Regions from separate parts of the Homo sapiens genome. Here regions 1, 2, 3 and 4 are each linked to region 5. Evidence: promoter capture Hi-C in 16 types of primary human blood cells and fetal thymus (Javierre and others, 2016). All regions are on one chromosome and are shown on one strand. The core of a region is centred on a gene start or on the middle of the fragment in contact, and the rest is flanking DNA. Distances in the headings are between cores, read along the strand shown. Region 1 holds the start of C1QBP (complement C1q binding protein). Region 2 overlaps NUP88 (nucleoporin 88). Region 3 overlaps DHX33 (DEAH-box helicase 33). Region 4 overlaps RABEP1 (rabaptin, RAB GTPase binding effector protein 1). Region 5 holds the start of ZFP3 (ZFP3 zinc finger protein).

The links. The method cuts DNA at HindIII sites, captures the fragments that hold promoters and counts their contacts. A CHiCAGO score of 5 or more calls a contact.
Region 1: the fragment with the promoter of C1QBP here is called in contact with the fragment with the promoter of ZFP3 in region 5 in 1 of 17 cell types (naive B cells); the score reaches 5.6 in naive B cells.
Region 2: a fragment that was not itself captured here is called in contact with the fragment with the promoter of ZFP3 in region 5 in 1 of 17 cell types (naive B cells); the score reaches 5.5 in naive B cells.
Region 3: a fragment that was not itself captured here is called in contact with the fragment with the promoter of ZFP3 in region 5 in 2 of 17 cell types (total B cells and naive B cells); the score reaches 6.7 in total B cells.
Region 4: a contact is called between a fragment that was not itself captured here and the fragment with the promoter of ZFP3 in region 5, in 2 of 17 cell types (total B cells and naive B cells). The highest score is 6.7, in total B cells.

The regions. Positions count from the first base shown.
Region 1 is chr17:5,437,829-5,440,528 of GRCh38, forward strand. It overlaps C1QBP (complement C1q binding protein), which reads right to left and starts at 1,327. Exons shown (of 6, transcript NM_001212.4): 1 at 1,014-1,327; 2 at 295-445. The coding sequence starts at 1,245. RefSeq lists silencers at 994-1,043, 1,154-1,323, 1,302-1,484 and an enhancer at 1,544-1,723. The HindIII fragment of the contact is 1,457 bases long and covers 435-1,891 here.
Region 2 is chr17:5,408,247-5,410,946 of GRCh38, forward strand. NUP88 (nucleoporin 88) reads right to left here. Exons shown (of 17, transcript NM_002532.6): 4 at 2,457-2,543; 5 at 487-663. Among named protein-coding and RNA genes, the nearest start is that of NUP88, 10 kb to the right of the region's middle. The HindIII fragment of the contact is 2,979 bases long and covers 1-2,700 here.
Region 3 is chr17:5,456,162-5,458,861 of GRCh38, forward strand. It overlaps DHX33 (DEAH-box helicase 33), which reads right to left. Exons shown (of 12, transcript NM_020162.4): 5 at 1-21. Among named protein-coding and RNA genes, the nearest start is that of DHX33, 11 kb to the right of the region's middle. The HindIII fragment of the contact is 1,608 bases long and covers 582-2,189 here.
Region 4 is chr17:5,359,167-5,361,866 of GRCh38, forward strand. It overlaps RABEP1 (rabaptin, RAB GTPase binding effector protein 1), which reads left to right. Exons shown (of 18, transcript NM_004703.6): 9 at 2,042-2,509. It overlaps LOC105371505 (a long non-coding RNA gene), which reads right to left. Exons shown (of 2, transcript XR_934178.3): 1 at 2,519-2,700; 2 at 1,441-1,918. Among named protein-coding and RNA genes, the nearest start is that of NUP88, 59 kb to the right of the region's middle. The HindIII fragment of the contact is 1,820 bases long and covers 386-2,205 here.
Region 5 is chr17:5,077,130-5,079,829 of GRCh38, forward strand. It overlaps ZFP3 (ZFP3 zinc finger protein), which reads left to right and starts at 1,338. Exons shown (of 2, transcript NM_153018.3): 1 at 1,338-1,446. ZFP3-DT (ZFP3 divergent transcript) reads right to left here and starts at 984. Exons shown (of 2, transcript NR_186458.1): 1 at 758-984. RefSeq lists enhancers at 806-1,677, 1,045-1,114. The HindIII fragment of the contact is 11,376 bases long and covers 673-2,700 here.

The DNA.
Region 1 (2,700 bases), core at 77-2,576, 360 kb after region 5:
ATTAGAGAGCAGTGTCCTATTTTATCAGGGCTGTAAATCAGAGATCAAACTGATTCTGCCAGTACTTTTTTGCACTACATTTTTGTCTCCTTAGTAACCAGCCCACAGCAAATTTGTGTTCGGTGAATGGACTGCCTGGGGCTTACGAAGTTGTCCAAATGAATCCTTCACTCTCTTGAAACCCATTTATCAAAGTATCCACACCTGAACTCAAGGCTCTTCTGGGGATGACCCAGGATGGGTCCTGCAAGGTTAAGGGAGTTGCTGCCCTGGGATCCCCAGACCAGTACTTACTTTTCCCCGGCAACTTTCCGCACTAATTTCGCTTCTGTCCCATTCAGTTCCAGCTCCCAACCTCCAGACATCTTAGGGAGGGTTTTATGCTTCTGAATTTTTCTTTCCTCCTTAATTTCATCACTCAGGAAATCAACAAAAGCTTTGTCTCCTAGAAAAGAAATCCAGATACATAAAAAGGAAAGCCAGTTAGTCTAAAACATAAAACTATTACCCAGGTTATTGCAGCCAGAAACCTGGACTGTTTCTAATCTCTCTGCTATTACGGTTACTCTAGAAGCCTGTTTCCTTATCGGTAAAAATACCATAATAGTAGTAGGAAGCTGAGCCTGATTCTGGAAAAGTGATTTCCAACAATGAACGCATTACCACTTTCCGCTATAAACCAGGAGAATTTCCAATCCTCTTCCACTTGCCAAACGATATAACTATGCTATTTTCAACCACGACCATGGGCCTTCCCAAAGGTCCACTTTCGATAGAATAAGACTAAGGAAAAAGGTACCCTAGTATTTAATTTTATTCACCCCCTACCAAAAGAAAACGAAACTGCTGGATAGGGGAGGTGGGGGAAATATGATCATACGTGGGTTTAGCCCGCTGGTTGCCAATCAATGGAAAAATGTCCCAGACCTCAGAGGTCGGTTGCAGGCCCTATTCCTGGTCTACGTTTTCCCTCTGTTGAACGCAAACCACACCCCCGGCCCGCTAAACCTCACCGTCGGTGTGCAGCGAGCCGCAGCCACAGCCACAGGCGCAGGGTCCGCGAGGCCGCAGGAGGCCCGGCCGCCGCTCGGAACCTGCGCGCACGCTGAGCAGCCCGAAGGGCCGGGTGCACAGCCGGGGTGCCGGCTGCAGGAGCTGCCGGAAAGGCGAGGCGGGCGCGGCAGCGCGGAGGCCGGCGACGGAGGAGCCCAGCACACGGGGCACGCAGCGCAGCAGAGGCAGCATCGCGGAAACGACTGCGAACACGTGCAGATGCAAAGGACAACCCAGGCCTAGGCGCCCCGCGACCTGAGGCGCCGCCGGAAGCCCCGCCCCTGCCCGGAAGCGCTTCCCGCGCCGGCGCTCTGACGACCTAAGGCCAGCGGGCGGAATCGCGCCCTCTGCTGGAGACTCCGGTGCAGCCCGGGAAGCCTCGAATCCGGATTCCGGAGCTTTCTTGCTGCGCTGCCGAGTCCGCTGTCCGAAGCTGTTTAATTCCCTCTAGTGGCCGCTTACCCACTTTCCACCTGCTGTTCTCAAAGCACGCAAGGCTTTTGGGCTGCGTGGAATGCACTCTTGTCTCCCGCCAGCTCTCACCAGACCCTTCCACGGTCACTTTCCTCTAGGAGGCTGTGGTGTTATGATATATATATGTATTGGTTTTCATCCACAGTTCCTGGGTCGTAACTCCTATAGCCCTTGTTACAATGTTCTGTGATAATGTTGGGTGTGTTAGGCCTCAGGAAACAGACTCTCCCCTTCTCCTGCCCTCCTTTTACCTGCCCCAAAGCAGGACTCTAATCTCCTTCCACATTTCTGATTATGGGTCTTAAGTCCCTTCCCAGAGAAGGTCCCACCATATACCCTGGGGGAAGGGATGCTGATGTCCAGAAGCTTCCATAAAAACCCAAGAGGAGAGGGTTTGCAGAGCCTCTGACAGCTGAATACGTAGAGGTTCCTGGAGGGTGGTGGCCCAGGGTAGGCAAGGAACCTCGGAGCTTCTTCCCCATTCCCCACCCTGCTCATCTCATCTGTATCCTTGGTCATATCCTTTATATGAAACCGGTGAATGTGTTTCCCTGAGTTCTGTGAACTGCTCCAGTGAGTTAACATAATCCAAAGAGGGGGGTCGTGGGAACCCCAACTTGAAGCGGGTTGGTCGGAAGTTTCAGAGGCCCAGACTTGCCATTGCTGTCTGAAGGTGGGGGCGGTCTTGGGGACTGAGCCCTCAACCTATGGGATCTGACACTATCTCCAGGTAGATACTGTTGGGATTGAATTGGAGGACACCCAGCTGGTGTCTGCTGCTTAGTGTGGAGGGGAAAAACCCAAACCTTTGGCCACATAAGTCTTCTGTGTTGATTGTTGTGTTGTGAGAGCAAAGGAAAGTCTGAGGGTTTTCCTGAAAGAGGCCTTCTAGAACCTTTTTTTCCACCGGCTCGGAACTCATGCTTGTGCGCACCCAGCCCATATGCTTCATTCTCTTTTCAACAGGAACCTCCTAGCGTTGCTGCTTTAACCAGGTTAAACCCAACCAGACTGTGACATCCTCAAGGGCAGGATCCATGATTAATTTTTGTGACCTTCCCTCTCTGCACCTCCAACCTTGCATCCAAGTTCTAATGGAACATCATTTTTCTGGGGACAAGAAGCCAGCTTATATCATTTAGATAAGTCCAGAGGCTTCCATAAAAACCCGAG
Region 2 (2,700 bases), core at 127-2,626, 330 kb after region 5:
GTCACACATGACACCACTCCTTCTCTACGAAAATTTCCTTAACCTCCCAGTCAGAATGATCTCTCCTTCCTCGGGGTTCTTACTGTCTGTGTACCAATACTGTGGTATGGATAGTATTTTTTCATGTGTATGTATCTTTCTCCCCACAACTGGGACATAAGATACCAGATTACCACGCCTACGTGGTGTCTTGTTCATATAAGATAAACAATAAGCACTTGTTCGGATAACTAGAATTTGTGAACACAAATCCAGGCCTATCATAAGTGATTATCCAAGAATTCTATAGAACTTACCCAAATAATATGAAGAAATGAAAGGCCAAATGACCTGTACTAACTCTTTCTCAAAAATATGCAAGCCAAGCATGTGAAGGCTGCAACATTTCCACAGACTCAAAAACATGGCTCCCAAGTCCAGCCTCAATGATATCTACTGGAGCCCAAACTGAGTTTTCATTTCAGGTGGGTGACCACCTCAACTTACCTGTGTAACAGACTGATGTATGTCAGGAAAGTCTCTCCATTTTCATATAAGATGTACAGTGGGTATGCCACTACTTCATCTTTGCCGTTTTGTCCAAATAGAGTCTTTGGGACTGCTGCCAATGGCCCAAAGTCAAATGCAACTGCTGTCTCTCCTAGAGATGCGGTATACGCCCTTCTGGAAAGAGATGTAAAAACCAACTTGTTAAAAACAAAAACAACAAAAAGTAAAAAGAAAAACAAAACAAAACAAAAACACAAAATGTCTAATAACAGGAGGTGGGTATGTATGGAATTTGTAGGCAATGGACTGAAAAGACAAAAAATGATTATGAAGAATGTTAACATTTAAAAATTCTCAGCTGGGTGCAGTGGCTCATGCCTGTAATCCCAGCAATTTGGGAGGCCGAGGTGGGTGGATCACCTGAGGTCAGGAGTTCGAGACCAGCCTGGCCAACATGGTGAAACCCCGTTTCTACTAAAAATACAAAAATTAGTTGGGCGTGGTGGCAGGTGCCTGTAGTCCCAGCTACTTGGGAGGCTAAGGCAGGAGAATTGCTTGAACCTGGGAGGCGGAGGTTGCAGTGAGCCGAGATTGTGCCATTGCACTCCAGCCTGGGCGACAAGAGCGAAACTCCGTCTCAAAAAAAAAAAAAAAAAAAAAATTCTCATGAAATTAAGTGAAAAAAGCTGGCCATAAAATTATTTGGTTCTACTCTCATCTTAAATAGTTTAAATACACAGATATACAAATAGCAAAAATTTATTATATACACACACATAAATGCAAAAAGGAAACAGGAAAACACATGAAAACATCAACAGTTGTCTCTGAGCAGCAGGATCCGTAAGTTCTACAAATACTCGCAAAGCACCTACTCTGTGCCAGGTACTTTTCTAGGGTCTGGGAATATGTCAGTGAATTAAACAAATGTCCTGCCCTCTAGAGAGAGAAATACCACAAAAAGAGAAGAAATAAAGATGGAACATAAACTCAGAAAATATCATGAAAAATAAAGTAGGGTAAGAGGGTATTGATGGAGGTGCTACTTTAGACTACTTGGTATAGGAAAGACTCTGATAAGATATTTGAGCAAAGATCTGAAGGAAGTAAGAGAGCAAGTCTGTGGTTAACTAGGGAAGGAGCAGTTGAGGTGGAGAGCAAATGCTCTAAGGTAGAAGTGCTTAATGTCTGTGGAATGGCAAGGAGGCCAAGGTGCCTGGAGCCCAGAGAGCCAGGGCACAGAGGGAGGAATGAAGCTGGAAAGGCAATCAGGTGGCATACCTGTGGACCCTTTATAGGTAAAGACTCTGGGAAATCAATGGGGTATGGAGAGCAGGGAAGTAGAATGATCTGATTAAACTGATCTGATTAAACTTAGATTAAAGTAGAATGATGTGATTAAACTTTGGGTGCTGTATTGAAACAGGCTATAGCTATAGGAGATTACAAAGATTTTCATTTTCTTCCTAATACTTTGATCTATTTTTCTCAATTTTCTACAGCAAATATACATTACATGTATATCAAGAAGGCAAATCATAAAACCATGCTGTTTTTATATTTAAAATTTACTGTAGTTATTCAGGAAGATTCTAGTTCAATACAAAGTTAACAAATATGGTTAAAATGAAATCACAATTTCATATAGTTGAGAGAGCAAACATCAATGCAAGATATTATCTTAGTTTCTTTATCACATAGAAAGGTGATAAAGAAATGAATGGTGGCTCAGGCCTGTAATTCCAGCACTTTGGGGAGGCTGAGACGAGCAGGATCACTTGAGCCTAGGAGTTCCAGACCAGCCTGGCCAACACGACGAATCCCTGTTCTACTAAAAATACACTTACTTCTCACATTACCAAAAGCATGCTAGTCACCTCTGAAAAACCTTGCAACCTGTTAAAATTGCATTTATAATCCCAATAAGCTAATTAAAAAACCATTTCAAGACTCAAATAAAAACTTACCCTTTATTGAGTACTAGACTTTCCTCTTCGGCTTCTGAAAGTATTATCACGTTAGTGGGTGTCTGCGGCTCACGTAGTGAGTAAATTCTAGCAACCAAAAGAGAAGAAAACCAGCACTTAAAATTCTGTTTTCATTTCCCAAAACTGCACTTTCCTCTCCATCTAGTCAGTTCTTGAGAATTTTCTAACACTTATCACAACTATTTCTTTGCAAAAATCTTGCTGTTGCAAAGTAGTCTAGTTC
Region 3 (2,700 bases), core at 136-2,635, 380 kb after region 5:
GTCCTGTGAAGAAGGGGCTTCCTGTAAAAAAAGTAGAGTGGGTTTACTAGGCATTGATAGAATTGCAGCTTGCACAGAAAAAGACAATGGTGATTGATGATGTTTCCCAGAGTTATTTCTCTTAACTATAGAAATGTAAATGAGCCTAAAAGTTGATGTCTAGCTTGGAGAGAACCCTTACCAGCAGTGTGTAAATGGTAACAGGCTGGGTGTGATGGCTCACGCCTGTAAACCCAGCACTTTGGGAGGCTGAGGCGGGAGGATCGTTTGCAGCCAGGAGTTTGTGACCAGCCTGGGCAACGCAGCAAGATCCCATCTCTACAAAACACTTTTTTTTAAATTGGTCAGGGGTGGTGACACATGCCTATAGTTCCAGCTGCTTGCCACTCCACTCCAGCCTGGGCGACAGAACGAGAACCTGACTCAAAAACACAAAAAACAAAACTGTAATATATAGGAGTTAGCCAGCTATGTTTATAGGCCAAGTGATGAAATTTTGAAGGGAAATCATCAGATTGATTTTTCTAACAAGAACAATACCATGAAAAGCATAATCAGGCAAGCAAATAAAATCTGCATGAAGCTTCCTTTCTTTTATAAGCATCTTGAAAAATGAAGTTGACAAAACAGAAGGAAACTTGGGGAAATCCTAATCTATGGAAATGAACAGGCGCAGCCATGCTGGAGAAGGAGCCTTTAATGAATGACGCCGTCGAAAGCGCTTTCACACGCCCCAAAACACACACTATACTCGGACAACTGCTTGAGATACTGAGGTTAATGGGGTTCCTCACTTTCAAATGGAACAACACCCAAGTGTGAATGACATACCTAATGCCCTGATTTTTCTTTGATTTCTGATCAGATACATTAATTTGTTTGATGTAAAGTGCTTAACACTTTGGGAGGCCGAGGCGGCCAGATCACCTGAGGTCAGGAGTTCGAGACCAGCTTGACCAACATGGTGAAACCCTGTCTCTACTAAAAATACAAAAAATTAGCCAGGCGTGGTGGCGCACGCCTGTAATCCCAGCTACTCAGGAGGCTGAGGCAGGAGAATCACTTGAACATGGGAGGCGGAGGTTGCAGTGAGCCGAGATTGCATCACTGCACTCCAACCTGGGCGACAGAGCAAGACTCCATCTCAAAAAATAAATAAATAAAATGAAGTGCTTGATGGACTGGGCGCAGTGGCTCATGCCTGTAACCCCAGCACTTTGGGAGGCTGAGGCAGGCAAATGGGTTGAGGTCAGCAGTTTGAGACCAGCCTGTCCAACACAGTGAAATCCCATCTCTATTAAAAATACAAAAGTTAGCTAGGTGTGATCCCAGATACTCAGGAGGCTGAGGCACAAGAATCACTTGGACCTGGGAGGTAGAGGTTGCAGTGAGCCGAGCTCGTGTCACTGCACTCCAGCCTGGGCGACACAGTGAGACTCCATCTCAAAAAAAAAAAAAAAAAGTGCCTAATGGCAAAATAAATAGAAAAAAATTTTAATAATTATATGTATATTTATGTATATATGTAAAAATACGTATTTTTTAATATGTATTTTTTTTCAGCCCAGTATTAACAGAACAAATGTGCAGAGGGATACACAGACAGGATAAAATCTAAAACAGTCAAAACCTCATGAGTGGGAGAATTCATCAAAGCCAGTGGTAACCTAATGCACCAGCAGCCATCATTCATGAAAAATTCTCGTTTGCTTTCTGCAGCTGAACAAGGCAGACTTCTTCCCCAAACACTATGAAAACGACAGTAAAGGCCACTGTCTTAGAAAGAAAAGGCAATGAGAGATGAGGAGTCTCAACTCATTTTGGAAGAGAGGGGAAAGGGGCTGGATGACTTGGCTAGAGGGAGGAAACTACAAATTATGTTGTGGGAGAGTGAAAACTCAGGGATTGGTTCAAAGTCTGAGTATAGAGTAGTTAAAGCCTTCAGTTCCCTCTCCTACCCAGGACGGCCAGGAGACTGGGAAGCCATGGGTCTCACCACGGGAAAATGGTGACAAAGTGAAGAGTCAAGATGACAGCTGCACAAAGGCCCAGGAGAGCCACCTGCCCCAACTGGAACAGCAGCATAAAGGACTCTGAAAAGACAGACTGTGCTTGAACACAGAACTATACACGACTGGCATATGAGATGTTGGAATATTTGGGAGAAAATGAGCCAGAGCTACCCAGAAAGCTTGCACAACTGTGTTGTTCAAGAAACAAGGTACAGGGATGATGGTGTGCTACTAGCAATGTGTGGTCATAATATTCTTAGTATTGATACTGGACTCAGAAAACATCATAATAGGCCAGACACAGGTGTGCAAGCATGTAGTCCTAGCTACTCCCAATGCTGAGGTGGGAGGACTGATTGAGCCCGGGAGTTCACGACCAGCCTGGGCAACACAGCAAGATCCTGCCTCAAAAACAAAAACCTAAACAAAAACATGATAGAACTGTCAAGAGGTTGGAGATAAAGGGGGTTGGGGAGGGGCATTCTAAACTTTTGTCACCATGGTAAGAAATTAGCATATGATGCCTGATACCCATAACTCAAAAAATAGTGGTCAAAGCAAGGTAGTTTAGAAACATGAAAGCAATATGTAGAGATTGAAAGTAGGTGCCCTAAACAGCAGAAATCTGGGATGTTGAAGTAAAAACAACTGCTATTCTTTTATTATAAACCTTTTACTATAAACTACT
Region 4 (2,700 bases), core at 46-2,545, 280 kb after region 5:
GGGTTCACGCCATTCTCCTTCCTCAGCCTCCCAAGTAGCTGGGACTACAGGCACCTGCCACCACGCCTGGCTAATTTTTTGTAATTTTTAATAGAGACGGGGTTTCACCATGCTAGCCAGAATGGTCTTGATCTCCTGACCTTGTGATCTGCCCGCCTCGGCCTCCCAAAGTGCTGGGATTACGGGTGTGAGCCACTGCGCCCAGCCAGTCTGATGTTTTTCAAATGGCCCTCACAACTGTTCTATCCCTAGCCCCTTCCCTCTTCAGTATCACAGCAGCACTGTATATGATACATAGCAGTGGGTGTTAGGGTTATTTGTAAACTAACAGAATGGCTTATCCCAGTTTTTATTAGGATACTTACTTGGGATCTTTGCCATAGTAAGCTTAATATATACGAGATTTGTGTTCTTAGCCATTGCAGTTTCAGATGAGTAACAATCTTTAAAAGGAAAGAAATGGAGGCATTAACTCAAAATTTGTCACCTTTTTATTACACCAAGAATATTTTTAAAACATTAAAAAAAATAGGTTACATGAGCTTGCCAGTAACAACAACTGTATTCCACAGTCTCCTCTGGTTCATTTAAAACAGGGCGTTTAACAACAAAACGTAGAAAGGATATTATCTTAAAACATTGTCATTTAAATGGAATAAATTTAGTTGGAAGGAAAACTTGTTACATTTTTCTTTAAATCATTTTTCTTATTTCCCACTAACTATGCAACTGCTTCATGTAATGGCACTGGTTTGCTTTTTGCCTTCAGGAATGTGCTGTACCACGTTGTTTAAAAATTGAGATAAAATTCATGTAACATAAAATTTAAAGTGTACAATTCAGTGGCATTGCATATATACACAAATGTTTTTAGTTTGAAAACATTTTTATCACTCCCAAAGGAGACCTCATAACCCATTAGAGTCACTCGCCATTTTCCCTTTGCCCTAGCCTCTAGTAACCACTAACTTGCTTTATGGCTCTATGGATTTACTTGTTCTGGACATTTTAAATAGATGGAATTACATAATATGTGACTTTTTGCATCTGCTTTCGCATAGTATACAACATTGAACATGTTGATTACACCTTGCTGGAAAATACCACATTCTTGGGCCGGGTGCGGTGGCTCACGCCTGTAATCCCAGCACTTTGGGAGGCTGAGGTCGGGGGATCACGAGGTCAGGAGAGCGAGACCATCCTGGCCAACATGGTGAAACCCCATCTCTACTAAAAATAGAAAACATTAGCCGGGCGAGGTGGCGGGCACCTGTAGTCCCAGCTACTTGGGAGGCTGAGGCAGGAGAATGGCGTGAGCCCGGGAGGCGGAGCTTGCAGTGAGCGGAGATCGCGCCACTGCACTCCAGCCTGGGCGACAGAGCGAGACTCCGTCTCAGAAAAAAAGAAAATACTACGTTCTCGTCATTTCCTTTCCACTACTCTGGCTTCTCCTTTGCTCATCCCCAAGATGTTAATCTTTCTCAGGGTTCTGCCCTTGGCCCTCTTTGCCTACACACTCATCCTACGTGTTCTGATTTGCTGCTGTGACTTTAATTATCATTATACGATAGTTACTCTCAAGTCTCTATCGAAAGACTTCTGTGTCCCTCTGTCAAGGGAATATCTCTGCTTGGATTCATGATAGGCACCTCGCGCTTGACACACGCCACACTGAATTGCAGGTGACGTTCCTCAACTGTTCGTATTTGGGAGCTCTTTGAGCTACCAGAGCATTCAGCACATAGCTCCAGCCCATCCTTTTATCACAGTATTATAACAGTCTGCTTACTTATCTTTTTTTTTTTTGAAGCCGTATGTATCTCGAGGTCAGGGATTATATCTTGCTCACAGTTGTATCCTGAGGGCCTGGTTTTGTGTCCAGCATGTAGAAATGACACTTAGTGTTTGTTCAATGAGTCTGTGAAGGTAGCACATTAATGATTATCATGTGTAATGAGTGGCGGAATACATTTATTATAGTTTTTGTCTTTAAAAACGCAGAGAATTGTCTAACTTGGCCATATGTATTTTCACATTTCAGGAGCATTTAGACAGCACCCGTGGCTCAGTTCATTCCTTAGATGCAGGCTTGCTGTTGCCATCTGGAGATCCTTTCAGTAAATCGGACAATGACATGTTTAAAGATGGACTCAGGAGAGCACAGTCTACAGACAGCTTGGGAACCTCGGGCTCATTGCAATCCAAAGCTTTAGGCTATAACTACAAAGCAAAATCTGCTGGAAACCTGGACGAGTCAGATTTTGGACCACTGGTAGGAGCAGATTCAGTGTCTGAGAACTTTGATACTGCATCCCTTGGGTCACTCCAGATGCCAAGTGGGTTTATGTTAACCAAAGATCAGGAAAGAGCAATCAAGGCGATGACACCAGAACAAGAAGAGACAGCGTCCCTCCTCTCCAGCGTTACCCAGGGCATGGAGAGTGCCTATGTGTCCCCTAGTGGTTATCGTTTAGTTAGTGAAACAGAATGGAATCTCTTGCAGAAAGAGGTGAGTTACCTTTCTCACGTTTTTCCTCTTGCTCACGCTGAGGCACACTGGGAAGCTCTGGGATTTAGCGTTCATTCAACAGACGGTTCCTGGAGTCAGTGCAGGCACATGTTGCCAGCAAGTGGATATTAACGTGTGTCACCTGACCCTTGTCATAGTCTGCCTTGGGTATTCCAGGTAATTGTGACAGA
Region 5 (2,700 bases), core at 88-2,587:
GGTAGCTCACGCCTGTAATCCCAGCACTTTGGGAGGCCAAGGTGGGCCTAAGGTCTGACCTAAGGTCAGAAGTTCGAGACCAGCCTGACCAACATGGTGAAACCCCGTCTCTACTAAAAATACAAAAATTAGCCGGGCGTGGTGGCTGGCACTTGTAATCCCAGCTACTCTGGAGGCTGAGGCTGGAGAATCGCTTGAACCCGGGAGGTGGAGGTTGCAGTGAGCAGAGATCGTGCCATTGCACTCCAGCCTTGGCGACAAGAGCGAAACTCCGCCTCAAAAAACAAACAAAAACAAGCTGGAGGCCGGGCGCGGTGGCTCATGTCTGTAATCCCAGCACTTTGGGAGGCCGAGGCGGCCGGATCACCTGAGGTCGGGAGTTCGAGACCAGCCTGACCAAAATGGAGAAAACCCGTCTCTACCTAAAATACAAAATTAGCCGGGCGTGGTGGCACATGCTTGTAATCCCAGTTACTCGGGGAGGCTGAAGTAGGAGAATCGCTTGAATCCGGGAGGCGGAGGTTGCGGTGAGCGGAGATGGCGCCATCGCACTCCAGCCTGGACAACAAGAGCGAAACTCCATCTCAAAAAACAAACAAACAAGAAAACAAGCTGGCTGTGCAAAATTACAGAGGAAGTAACAAGGAAAGGTTCTGAGGTGAGAATGGGCCAAGCTTGCTCAGGGAACCCAGGAAGGCTAGCTGCAGAATGCTGTTTCCGTGGCCTCGGCAGCTTAACCTAGGCCTTTACTCTTAACCTTGGTAATTCCCACGCAATCTTGAGATTTCAGGCCAAACGTCACTCCTGCAAGCCCTTCCGGAACTCAAAGCATGTCTCCCTTCGCTCCCGCCGAGGAGAGACCTGTTCCCAGGATCTGCAGCCCTGTGCTTATCAGACCCACGGAGTCTGTGGAAAGGAAGGATGGGATAAGAACGATGCGGGTTGGGAGAGTTAAAAGGGTCGCGCAAACGGTCCCCGCGGGAATGCGAAGCGGATTCTCGAGTTCTTGAGCCTAGAGCAATGCTTGGGGAGCGACACGAGGGCGCAGAGCGGCAGATCGCGGAGCGGAAGTTCATCCCCGGAGCCGTTCTAGGAAACCCGGAGGACTCAGGTCGTCAATGATTCCGGGGCTGAAGTGGGCATCGACGGGTGCACTTTGCTGTTCCAGGGAGCCGGCTCGGCAGGCGGCGGCGACGTGGAACTTGGGCTAGGGCTAGAACCGGCGAAAAGCAAGCCGGAAAAGGCAAGGGGGCGTCGGTGCGCTGACCACCTGTTCCTCCAGCGGAGTGCGACGCGCGCCGATTGGCTGGAGTGCCGCCCGGGTACCGGAAGTGGCCGATGCCCGTCGCCAGTGACACCGGGACAACAGCTGCGGGCTCTGTGCGAGCGGCCCAGCAGCGCGGAGCCTCAGCGGAGTGAGCGAGCGCGGGGCAGTAGCGGCCTGCGGTGAGACCTCATTCCGTCGCGGCTGTGGGGGTAGGCGGGGGCTGGGCTCCCAGCTCCCTAGAGAGCCGAGCGGAAACCCTACGTTTAGGCCCGTTCTGACCGGGGTTCGCTGTGTGACCTTGAAGTTTATGCCTCCCTCCATTCCCCCCGCCCCCAGGCCTTCATTTCCACCTGCACACAGAGAGGGTGGGGCCTGGACACCGCCAGGGACAGTCCCAGCTCTGGTTTGGTGCCTGTCAGCCGTGGGGGTGGGAGAAGCAGGGACACTCCCTTCTGTACCGAGGTGGGGACCCGTGGGAGCTGTGGTTTTCTCAGACATTCCACCCCCAAGTAAACCGCTAGGACGAAATGGCGGGCAGTGTCACAAACTTAACGCCCTAGTGGCAGATTGTGCCCTGTGCTGCCAGACAAGATATTGGCTTATGAGGGGTGGTCGTGAAAAGGAGACAGGTTTGAGCTGCAAAGATAGAGCCCTATTGTGGGTCAGAGGGAGAAGAGAGGAAAGGAGGTTAACAGTGCCATAAATTAAATATCACCCAGATTGGGAAAAGGAACTTATTTTTACAAACAGTTATCGACACCAGCTATGTGTCAGACACTATCCTAGGCTCTTTAGATATAATGATGAATGAAATATCCAGTTAGCCATCAAGAGTATTACAGAGGCTGGGTGCAGTGGCTCATGCCTGTAATCCCAGCATTTTGGGAGGCCTAGGCGGGAGGATCACTTGAGCACAGGAGTTCAAGACCAGCCTGGGCAACATAGTGAGACACCATCTGTACAAAAAACAAAGAAATTAGTTGGGTAGTTGGGTGTGGTGGCGCATGCTTGTAGTCCCAGCTACTTGGGAGGCTGAGGTGGGAGGATTTTCTTGAGCCTGGGAAGTTGAAGCTGCAGTGAGTCTGGGCAATAGAGCCAAGACCCTGTCTCAGAAAAAAGGGAGGTATTGCAGATTCATTATATATATAAGACAGTTACACAAATTCACTTAACATTTACCAGGTATCTGAAATATGCTAGGTACTCAGAATACCAGGATGAATGGAACAGCATCCTTGCTTATGGTCTAGAGAAGAAAATAGGTATGAAAAATTAATAATGCAGTGGGGTAGCTGCTACAAGGTGAAGGAGTAGCTGTCTGCCTTAGAGCCTGGGGGTCAGGGAAGAAAATGGAGGGGGTCAGCTGGGCGTGATGGCTCATGCCTGTAATCCCAGCACTTTGGGAGGCAAAGGTGGGCGGATCACCTGAGGTC